Regions from separate parts of the Homo sapiens genome. Here all the other regions are linked to region 1. Evidence: promoter capture Hi-C in 16 types of primary human blood cells and fetal thymus (Javierre and others, 2016). All regions are on one chromosome and are shown on one strand. The core of a region is centred on a gene start or on the middle of the fragment in contact, and the rest is flanking DNA. Distances in the headings are between cores, read along the strand shown.

What was found. Contacts are between HindIII fragments. The CHiCAGO score rates a contact against its expected background, and 5 or more counts as called.
Region 2: the fragment with the promoter of IL10RB here is called in contact with the fragment with the promoter of OLIG1 in region 1 in 5 of 17 cell types (neutrophils, non-activated CD4 T cells, erythroblasts and 2 more); the score reaches 9.0 in neutrophils.
Region 3: a fragment that was not itself captured here is called in contact with the fragment with the promoter of OLIG1 in region 1 in 6 of 17 cell types (M1 macrophages, M0 macrophages, naive CD4 T cells and 3 more); the score reaches 8.0 in M1 macrophages.
Region 4: a contact is called between a fragment that was not itself captured here and the fragment with the promoter of OLIG1 in region 1, in 1 of 17 cell types (naive CD4 T cells). The highest score is 5.4, in naive CD4 T cells.

Annotation. Positions count from the first base shown.
Region 1 is chr21:33,068,662-33,071,458 of GRCh38, reverse strand. OLIG1 (oligodendrocyte transcription factor 1) reads right to left here and starts at 1,318. Exons shown (of 1, transcript NM_138983.3): 1 at 1-1,318. The coding sequence starts at 1,212. The coding sequence ends at 397. The HindIII fragment of the contact is 4,947 bases long and covers 1-2,797 here.
Region 2 is chr21:33,264,942-33,267,806 of GRCh38, reverse strand. It overlaps IL10RB (interleukin 10 receptor subunit beta), which reads right to left and starts at 1,440. Exons shown (of 7, transcript NM_000628.5): 1 at 1,293-1,440. The coding sequence starts at 1,341. The region is part of intron 7 of IFNAR2-IL10RB (IFNAR2-IL10RB readthrough); the gene reads right to left. IFNAR2 (interferon alpha and beta receptor subunit 2) reads right to left here. Exons shown (of 9, transcript NM_001289125.3): 9 at 2,143-2,865. IL10RB-DT (IL10RB divergent transcript) reads left to right here and starts at 1,547. Exons shown (of 2, transcript NR_038974.1): 1 at 1,547-1,744; 2 at 1,905-2,175. RefSeq lists a silencer at 1,185-1,594 and enhancers at 1,765-1,834, 1,865-1,924. The HindIII fragment of the contact is 8,663 bases long and covers 1-1,583 here.
Region 3 is chr21:32,836,984-32,839,792 of GRCh38, reverse strand. No RefSeq gene overlaps it. Among named protein-coding and RNA genes, the nearest start is that of EPCIP, 25 kb to the right of the region's middle. The HindIII fragment of the contact is 1,145 bases long and covers 898-2,042 here.
Region 4 is chr21:32,868,302-32,871,001 of GRCh38, reverse strand. No RefSeq gene overlaps it. Among named protein-coding and RNA genes, the nearest start is that of EPCIP, 56 kb to the right of the region's middle. The HindIII fragment of the contact is 4,133 bases long and covers 1-2,700 here.

The sequences.
Region 1 (2,797 bases), core at 69-2,568:
GGAGGTAGCGCTCGGGGATGGCCTCTCGCTGCACCCGGGGCGCGCCAACCACGGCAAGGCGCCCTAAGTTCTACATCGGCCCCGCGAAGCGCGCAACTCCAGGGACAAGGAGAGAGATGTGCTGGGTGAGAGCGAGCACTTTCTGCCTAAAGCCGCTGGAACCGACCCAGAACCCCAAACTGCCCCGAGGCGCCATCGAACATCCGCTCTGGTCACTTTAACGTCCCAGGGGTGGGGGCGGGGAAGGGGGTGCCCGACAGTCCCTTCCTCTGGACTGGAAGGTTCGAAATGCTTTCCTTGCTCGGCCTCGCTCTCCCAGACGCAGGGAGCAGGGGCGCGGAGAAGCTGAGCGAAGGGAGGCCGGGCCGAGGTCGCGCCCCAGGCCCAGGCCCGCCCTCACTTGGAGAATTGCGCCTGCACGGCGGCCAGGCCCAGGCTGGCCGGGACCAGGTGCGGGAACTTGCACACGGCGCAGGTGCAGAGGCCGGGGCCGCCTGCGCCGCCGCCGGGGAGAGCGAACTGGCCGCACGGCGGCTCGTCCAGCGCCAGCGACAGGTACTTGGCGGGGCGCAGCGCGTCGGGGGGTCCTACGGCGCCGGGCGCCAGCAGCACGGAGCCGGGCGCGGCGGCGAGCAGGGGCAGCCCGGCCAGCAGCAGGCGCGGCGCGGCGGGCCCGGCGCCCTCGCCCAGCGCGCGGCGCAGCTCCTGCAGCGAGCTGCCCAGCAGTAGGATGTAGTTGCGGGCGAGCAGCAGCGTGGCTATCTTGGAGAGCTTGCGGCCGGGCGCGCCCTGGCAGTGCGCCGCTGAGTAGGGCAGGATGACCTCGCGCAGGGCGTCCATGGCCAGGTTCAGGTCCTGCATGCGCTTCCGCTCGCGGCTGTTGATCTTGCGCCGCAGCTGCTGCTGCTGCTCCTCCTTGGCGTCCGGCCGGGCGCTGCCGCCCGGGTGCGCGCCTGACCCGGGCCCGGGGCCTGGAGGCTCGGCCGGCGCCTCCGGCTTCTCGCGCGCAGCCTTGGGGAGGAGGGGGGCCGTCGTGGAGGAGGAGGAAGTGGAGGAGGTGGAGGAGGTGGAGGAGGAGGAGGAGGAGGGCGGCTGCCTGTAGCCCACCAGCTCGTAGAGGGAGGCCCCGAGCTGCAAGTCTCCGGGCCGCTGTGGCCGCAGCATGGTCCCGGGGACCGCGTTCACGCGCGCCTGGGAAACCGCATAGTACATCTGGGAGGCGGTGGGGGCGGCCGAGGACGCCCTTCAGGAACGCCCTGGGGTGGGCCGGTCGGCAGGCCGCCCCTCCCCGCGGACCTGCGCGCGGGGAAACGATGGTGGGGCCCTGGCCCGCGCCCTACCCCTTTAAACCCGGCTTGGGAACCTGCGGGGCAGCGGGTGGCGGGGCGCAGCCAATGGAGGCGCGAGGCCGGGCGCAGCCGCGTGTTCATTGGCTGCTTGTGCCGGGGCCGCGCGGAGGTGCGGCTGGCACCGCTTTAGGAGGTTATTGTGAGCGCCTGTGCCAGCCGCGCGGGACAGGCCCCCTGAGCGGAGTAAGGGCGCCTTTTCAAGGCAAGCGGGGCTGTTGAAGGAGGACTGGTCGCACTGGTCAGGCTGCAACTCACGTGCCTTCCTCCAGCAACTGTCTACTCAAAAACAACCTCCCTCATATTTTTTTTTAACTGTGATCACATATTCATAACATAAAATTTACCGTCTTATGTTTAGAGTACTGTTCAGTAATGTTATATGCATTAGTGTGCACATTAAATTGATTTAAATTAAATTCACATTGTTGTGCAACCCATCTCCAGAACTCTTTTCAACTTGCAACCCTGAAGCTCCACCCATTAAACAACTCCCCACTCCCCCCGACCCAAGTTCCTGGAATTCACTCTTCTGTTCTGTCTCTATGAATTTGTTCTACTCTAGGTCCCTCATATAAGTAGAATCATACAGCACTTGTCTTTTAGTGACTGGCTTCTTTCACTTAGCATATTGTCGTCAAGGTTTATCCATGTTGTAGCATGTATCAAAGTTTCTTCCTTTTCAAGGCTGAATAATATTCCAGTATATGGATATACCACATTTGGTTTATCCATTCATTCGTTGATGGACATTTGGGGTGCTTTTGGTTGTTGCGAATTATGCTGCTATGAACATGAGTGTATCATGTTTTTTTTTTCTTAAAATACATAATTTCCTGCCAGGTTCAGGTCGCTAAATTTCTGGACTAAATGACAAGTAGCATTAGGATATTTCCTCCCTGCTGCTCCCAACCTCCTTCCCCATCCCTCTGATTGAAAGGTCTTTAGGGACAAAGGAGCCTTTGGGTCGGGTTTCTATCCTCCCCGAAAGGGATGGTCTATCAGCAACTTGACATTTGCTTAAGCAAAAGTCACTCAGAAATTGGCCTCTTATTAGAAACAAAACAAAACACCCACATAGTCCTATCGGTTGAGGGTGGGAATGAATCATTTTATTTGCCAAATAGAATAGCATTACTTGGTGTCTATGGACATTTTCTGCCCCCAGCACCAGTGCATGCTACTATAACTTGTCAATGTCCTGGGGAAGAGGGCATCTTGGTGGCTGTGCTTGCTGGTTTCAGGGCTGCTTTGTTCTGGTTTTCTTCCACCAATATTTGCCACATGGGTTCACTCTGATCTTTGCTTCTGACCCCCAGCTCTGCCTGTAGCATCCTGCCTATGCCTCAGGTTCAGCTCCAACCTTGCTTTCTTCTGGAAGCCTTGGTGATTTCTCCTCTTCCTCCTTTCATGACTCTTGGCAAACCATTGATAGGATTTCTTCATAGCCT
Region 2 (2,865 bases), core at 191-2,690, 200 kb before region 1:
TGGTGGCTCGCGCCTGTAATCCCAGCTCTTTGGGAGGCTGAGGAAGGTGAATCACCTGAGGTCAGGAGTTCGAGACCAGCCTGGCCAACATGGCGAAACCCCATCTCCAATAAAAATACAAAAATTAGCCAGGCGTAGTGGCACACACCTGTAATTCCAGCTACTCGGGAGGCTGAGGGAGGAAAATCGCTTGAACCCGGGAGGCGGAGGTGGCAGTGAGGCAAGATCAAGCCACTGCACTCCAGCCTGGGCCACAGCAACAGAGCAAAACCCTGTCTCAAAAAAAAACAAAAAAACAAAAAAACAAACAAACAAAAAAAAAAACGGAAGAAGAAAGAAAGAAAAGAAAATTTGAAACCTACATGCAAGTAGAAAAGTAGAAGACTATAATAAACCACCACCCATCACCCAACTGGTACCAAGAGAGATATAAATGTGCGAGTCATGGGCCTATAGCCCGTGTTTAATGCCAGGGTTTGGCTGAAATCCCCCAAAGGAACAGTGCCAGGGAAGGAGAGAAAAGGCCTTGGGCATCACAATTAGCTACATAGAAACCTGACAGAGCAGGAGGGTCCCAAGCAGAGACAGCCTGACAGGGCGGGAAACCGGAGGGGTATCCCGGAAGGCCAGGGAAGAGTTCATGAGAAAGGAAGGAGGTGACCATGGTGTTATTGGAACCTAGGCAGTCAATTTAGAGGACAGAAAAGGTTTCAATGGATTTAGGTTTAGAAGCCATGGAGCTGGGGCGCTGGGGGACAGAATCCAGATTTCAGGGTGCTCGGGCCTGAACCGGAAGGAGGGGAGGTGCAGCGGGTGATGGGAGGCACATCTGTAGGGAGGGCTGGCACTGAGGGGGCAGACTTGGGGTCAGGGAGGGCTGTCAGGGCACTCGGGGACTGGTGGGGGCCTCCACTTGAACTGATAGTCTCCAGAAGGGTCAGATGACAGCCACGGTGGGATCTTGGGTCTTTTGGGGAAGCTACTTTATTTAGACGCCCGCCAGCAGAGAGCTGCAGGAGGACAGGGAATCAAAAGACGCCGGGAGTCTCCCCCTGAGTTTAGGGCCCAGACGGTCTGTAATCCGGGCGCGGATGGGGCTTTCTCCTGTTACAGAATCGACGGCAGCAGCAGCCTAGTTGCGTCTCAGCAGCCGGCCGTGGCGTTTGCATCTTCTCTCCCGAGGCCCCGAAGGCTCTTAAGTCACTTGCAGGGCGCCCAGGGATGGGATCAGGGGCGGCATCTCGCGGGGCCTCCCGGTTCCCAAGCGCGCCCCCTCCCCGCGGACCCCTCACCTGACACCAGCAGGCAGCCACCCAGCCAGCTCCCAAGGCTCCACGCCATGGACGGACGCTGGGGGTTCCGCGGCTTCCTCCAAGCACACGACCCCCGCCCGCGCCCGGGAGAGCTTGTCCGCGGCGGCTTCCGGGAACCAGCGGAGATGGGCGGGGCGGGGTGGGGAGGGGCCGGGCGACCGGGCTCCCACCCCGCTGCAGGCCCCGCCCACCAGCCCGGGTCCACCCGCGAGGCGCGGGGCACAGGCTTGGCAGATGCACACGAGGAAGAGGAAGGGATCCTCGCAAGCTTTGAAAGGCGCCGTCAAGTCAAATAAATAAATGCCCTACAACACCAACCCAGGACTGAGATCTGCATGCTGGAATGACGGTGGTGGTGGTGGCTTTCAGTATTCCCCAGGTTTTGTCCGGAGCACCGGCACGCCCTCTCTTGAAGTCCGCTCTCCGCACAGGTGAGTTAAAAGCACTTCAGCAGCAAATCCAGTTTGAGGGTCTTCTTTACCCTTCTCCCCAGGGATAAACAACACAAAACCAAGTCATCTTTACGCAAATAACTAGTTTCTTTCAGAGACTACTAAGAAAGCGTTAATTTCCTCTTTTTAACTTGATTAGTGGTTAGACGGGAAGATCCGGAGCTGTCCAGTGTCTTGGGTAATGCACGGCATCGCCTGATGTCTGACGCTAGAACACCACGTAAAGTCAAGCAGAGGGAAGTGAATGCGCCCTAGGCCCCTGCAGGCCACCAAGAAGAGCTAGAGGGAGTTGGTGCAATCCTAGAGATGCCGGCAGGTGCACCAATCTGTGGCACACGTACGCTCTCCAATGGAAGACAACTCAAGACCACACCAAGTTTGTATTAAAAAAGTACTGTTGTGTTACTTTTTACCAACCTCCAATCATTATACAAAATGTTAAAAAATACACAAACACACACACACACTCACAGCCATAGAGGTTATCGCAAAAGATCAACCCAGAATCTTTCAGAATATGACAGATGCACTGAGAAGGCAGATAAATTGATTCAATATACAAAAGGCCTCTTTCCTATGGAATTTCATTAGATTAAATAAGGTGTTCCCTCCTCACAGCCTCATCCTTATGAGCAATCATATAAATAATCTATTTAAAGTCCTTGAACTATAACTTGTATAATTTTTAGTTTTCCCCCTTTGAAGGGGCCTAAGAGAAAGGTTTGAGAAACCAGCTCTTGAGGGGGGCAGGGGTGAGGGGTAAGAGGTCCTGTGCCTTTCATTCATCCTGGGAGCTTCTCAGGATTGCAGCATTTCCACCTGAGTGTTCATTCTTGTACATTTTCTCATCTTTCTCCTGGGTTCCTAGGATCTTGGAGATTACCTAGTCCAATCCTTTTACTTCAGAAACAAAAAACCTGAGGCTCAGAAAGGCTAAGTCAAATGCCTAGGGTCACACAGGGAAACTGTGGGAGTTGGATCCCTGAGTCCCAGTCCTTAAACTGGTTGCTACATGACATTCTAGAACCTCTCCCCACCAACTCCCTTTTTAAAGACAGGGTCTGGTTCTGTCACCCAGGCTGAAGTGCAGTGACATGATC
Region 3 (2,809 bases), core at 221-2,720, 230 kb after region 1:
GATGGAATAAACCAAATGTGGAAGAATCCTGGAGTTATGGTGAACAACCATCCTAGTTTTCTCTGACTCTCCCAGTTTTAGTACTGAAAGTCCCTGTTCAGGGAAACCCCTGAGTCTGAGGCAAATCAAGACAGTTGGCCACCCTGCATAGAGTCATAGAAGTGCATGGTTAAAAGAGACCCTGGAGCCTCATACAACTCCCTCATTTTTGGCCCAGAGAGGTCAAAGAGGCAGCACAGCAAAGAACTCAATGTCTTCTTAATAAATGATGAATAAATCTATTGTCTCGTCATGTGAGTAAAATCACCAGAGATTATTAAATGTAAACATGGTACGAGACAAGGACTGGCACCAGAGTGAGGTGATGTGGGATCTAATCCTGGCTCTGCCACTAAATGGGGACCTTGGGTAGGGGAGCTCTGACCTGCCAGGTACTATACACCGATTATTTCATTAATCTGAATTATACTCCTTTAAAGCAGGATTAATATGCCTGTTTAACAGATGGAAGAATGGGCTCAGAGAAATCAAGTAACTAGCCCAATATCATAGTAAGAGCTAAGATTCGAAGGTCAGTTACTCTGACACCAAAGCATATGTTGTTGCCAAAATAGCCCCTACACTGGTACAAAGCTGATGGCAAATCAGCTGCTTGTTGCTCCCATGAAGGACTCATCAGATGGGAACGGCAATTGGAAGAGATAATTTTTTTTCCATTTCTGCAATGCAATTAAGGATATAATAAAATCATCACAGAATGCCCAAATGATTGATAATTGAGAGACTAGTACCAAGTCTACTTCCAAGAAAGATTTAGATTAGCTAGTGCATGTATTTAACCTGAGCTCTCTTTTCTGTTTTTTAATAACAAACTCAGCATCTGATTGATTTTAAGCTTAAGTTCACCAGTTTCTCATATCCACCAAATCAGAAGATAAACTGTATGAGGATAAGAATTTTGTTCACTGCCATAACCCCGGGGCACTTATGCTTGCCATGTAGTAGGTTTGCAATCCATATCTGTTGGATGTAAGAATGAATGAACAAATGAAACAAATTCAAAATTCAACATAGGAATGTTAAGTAATCTTATTATGTATATATACATGTGATAATTTATTTAAAAGTTGATTGAGCACTCAATACAGGAGGTAGAAATAAGGGAAGTAAAGATTTATCTGCCATGCAAATATTAACCAAAAAATTATTGGATGGATAAACTATAAGGATCAAATTGATCTATATATTTTTAATTTTTATAGATTAGAGCTTTTTTAGACTAAAGGGGGTTAGTAGAAGGTTCCTGTGATGAAATAAAGAATCCTTTTAGCAAAATAATAATGATCATAAACTCATTTTTCTAAAACAGTTGAGGATTTGCTTCCAGTGAAGGACTCTTTTACGGTAACTTGAGTCTCACTTTCCTTTGTTTATGTGGTGACATACATGTAGGAAGCAAAAAGCTGAATGCTTTTCTCTTTTGTTTTTTTTTGAGACAGGGTCTCACTCTGTCACCCAGGCTGGAATGCAGTGGCACAATCATGGCTCACTGCAGCCTTGACCTGCCAGGGCTCAGGTTATCCTCCCATCTCAGCCCCCCAGGTAGCTGGGACTACAGGTGCGCCACCACACCTGGCTGATTTTCATATTTTTTCATAGAGGTGGGATTTTGCCATGTTGCCCAGGCTGGTCTTGAACTCAGCATATGTTATAAACATAATTTCTCTGATAGTAAGGATGATATATGTGGGCATTCAGTACTAGGGGTTTGGGGTTTATGGGTGAATGAAGTTTTATATCACTTACCATGCTCTATGCTCCTTAAACTAGCTAGTGCTTGAAAATGGTATTACCATACATATCTTCAAATATGTATATTTGACAGTGGAGAATAAAAAAGAATAAATCACATAGCTTTAAAAATGATGTCAAATACAGCTTCAGCCTTTAAAACACATTTTAGAGGAAAAAAATTAACTATTATATAGAGTTAATCAAAATAAAACAACTTCTTAGGTTTGATAGCAGATCAAAAGTAAGCTTAAAAGTAATATACAGTGTTTAACATTTATGTGTAAGTTTAGTGGTCTGAGAAATAACTTTCCAATTGTACGGCCACTCTGTATTAGACATGATATTAAGGTAATGATGGAATATGTTCTTTCTTTATGGATACAAGGGATCTATTACCATAAAGAATGAATTAAATCTGTTACTATATCAAGAAAAACAGTGCATAAAATACTAATGCTACAAGAAAATGTGTCTCAGCCGGGTTAACAGATGGGTGAAGTGTGAAGGCAGATAAACTCTGCTTCTTTTGGCTTAGTCTTTATATCTCCCTACAACTATAACTAATCCTCTTTATTTGAACAATTTCAAAGACTCTAATTTTACACACATGGCATGCATACAAGAGACACACTTTTAGTTCCTGCCAGCAGGTAATTAGAAGCAACAAAAAGGTATGTCTTGATGAAGAATTGCCTCACTGCCCAAGCCACCACTTCAGCTGATCCAACAGAAATTCATCCTGTTACAGACCACTGCTCAGAGGCAGAGAAGGTCTGGTTTGCAGAGGAAAAAAAAATCATCCAGCCAATCAGACTTGAAATTGATCAATTCATCCCATTATATTTATGTACAGAAAAAGCCTATTAATTTTTGTATAACTAACTTTATAACCAGGTACTTAGTCATATTATTTCTAACAGCTTTTCAATTGATTTATATGGATTTTAGAGATATATAATGATGTAATCTGCAAATAATTTTCCCCATATTTACAGCTTTTTTTCCTCTTATCTAA
Region 4 (2,700 bases), core at 126-2,625, 200 kb after region 1:
GAAAGAGGTTCAGAGAGATGAGGACACTGGCCCCAGAGGACACAGCTGGTAAGTGGTGCAGCTAGGACCAGCAGCTGCCTGGCTCTACAGCCTGAGGCCTTGGCTTCCCTGCAGGCAGGCAAGGCAATCTACACTCATCCCCCCACCTACCCCTGCCCCCCACACACACATTATTCTACTGGAAATGCTCCTGGGCCCTGGGGTACAGTGAGAAAGGAATCCTCAGACCAGCAGACAGGCAGCCATGTTTGGCTCTCGACAGGCGGGAGCTCTGAAGAAGAAGCCATTAGTGCAGCGAGACAGGGGTTCACAGAGAAAAGAAGTCTCGAGAGGAGACCGCAAGGATGGCGGCCAGAGGGGGAAGAGCAGAGTTGGGGCAGGGACACAAGAGTCCCATGGCCTAGTGTGGCTCTGAGACCAGGCCCTGGGGGGAAGGAAATTGGAGGCAGTGAGAGGGGTGATGAGGGTGGTTAGTGGAGAGGGAGGAAGTACAGGACATACTGTACCTAGCACAGTATCTGTCACCTGTTGTGGGGAGTGGAGAGGGAAAGAAGATGCTAAAAAGCCAAGGTGAAGACAGATTGTGAAAGACTTTCAATCCTTGTTAAAAGTTCAGACTTTTTGTTGTCAATGCAGAGTCAATAATGGTTAGAGTCATTAAAGGCATAGAAGTAATAAGTAGTACATGACCAAATCTATGTTTCTGTGTTAGATAGGTAGATAGTAGATAATAGAAACAGATAGATGATAGACAGATAGGTAGAGATGGCAGAGATACAGAAATGATAGATAGATAGTAGATATAGATAAATAGATCAATAGATAGTAGCTACAGATAGTTAGATAATGATAGATATCATAGATATGGTAGATAGGTAGACAGATAAGCATGATAAATAGAGATAGATGATAGAGATTGATATATAGTGTATCATTCCATTTCCACACTGCTACAAAGAAATACCTAAAACTGGATAATTTATAAAGGAAAGAGATTTAATTGACTCACAGTTCTGCATAGCTGGGGAGTCTTCAGGAAACTTACAATCATGGCGGAAGGAGAAGGAGAAGCAGGCAACCTTCTTCACAAGGAGGCAGGAAAGAGAGAGATCAGGAGGAACTGCCAAACACTTATGAAACCATTCACTCTCGTGAGAACTCACTCACTGTCATGAGAACAGCATGGGGGAAACTGCCCTCAAGATCCAATCACCTCCCACCAGGTCCTCCCTTGACACGTGGGGATTATGGGGATTACAATTTGAGATGAGATTTGGGAGGGGGACACACAGCCCAACTATATCAGATAGATGGATAGATAGATAGATAGATAGATAGATAGATAGATAGATAGAGCAATGATAGAGATTATAGAGATAGATATGATAGAGATAGCAATGATAGAGATCATAGAGACAGGTATGATAGATGGATAGATAGATAATAGATAGGTATGATAGACTGATGGAGGTAGAGGTGAAGGTACAGAGAGGTGGAGATGGGGATGGGGATGGAGATCGGGATGGGGAGAAGGGATAAGGATAGGGACATATATTTCCTGGTGGGGTGTAGAGGGATTTAAAGGCATAGAAGGCACTAGGAGTGGGCAGAGACCCAAATTATTTGTCACATTTCTCCTCCTCCCACTGTTCTGCAAATACCTTGGGGCAAAGTGTCCCTAGTACTCCTGGCTAACATTGCAGGCTGGTGACCAGTGGATGGAGGACATGCCGGAGGCAAGCCCTGGGCTGAAAGAACAGCCACTTCCCCTGATGGCTGCTCAACACCCGGACTTCAGATCCTCCGACCAGACCTGCTGAGCATGTAGTCGCTAATCTCTGCAACAAAGTTCCTCCCTGAAAATTAGGGGTTTTGTTTTTGTGTTTTGCCTTCTGCAGTCTTGTCCACGTTTGCCTCAATTTCCACCCCTCATTGTGACCACCTGTTGGGTCTAAATGTTATTAGGAGGGGACAAATCCCGCAGGTAGCTGCCACCTTGCCCACAATGGCAGTTGTTCAGAAAGCCAGGCTCCTGCTGCGAGGGGCCACGCCACCCTGGGAGGGAAATGACCAAGGTCAATGTTGGGGATGCAGCATCTGCAGTGAAGCATTTGCCCATTCTCCTCCTGTGGTCATTGTTACATTCCACTGACCAGCTGCCTGCAGGCTCCAGGCACAGCCGCCATTCATCAGAGATTAATGCCTGAAATGAGCCACACCTCTGAACAATTGCTTCCTATAAGAGGGACAGCACTGAATGGCCAGGGAGCCCCATTGATGACTGTTATAAAAGAGGTGAAGGCTTGCATGGAGGAAAGAAAAGTTTCACACCGCCCCTCAAACCTAGCTCGATTCTTCCTTCTCTCTCTTCTTTTCCCTTCTGACTGCCCATTTTGGCCACATTGCCTTAATTCAGAATCTTCTTTTATGTACAGGACTTGGGCAGCAAGCTGAAAATTTGTGAATTTGCTACTGTAAGTCATATTGCTGTGTGCTGATCGCATTAGTACTATTATCTGTGCAACTTTCCAACTTGACAATTAGTTACTATCATTCACGCTGTGCAATCAGCTGTTAAATCCTCGTTTATGCTAATTTGAATATGAATGTGCTGTTCAATAACATGTTAGATTGCCATGTTTACAAATATACTCCAGGTATTTAGAAATTTAGATGATGCAAAACATACTGTTTAAGTTG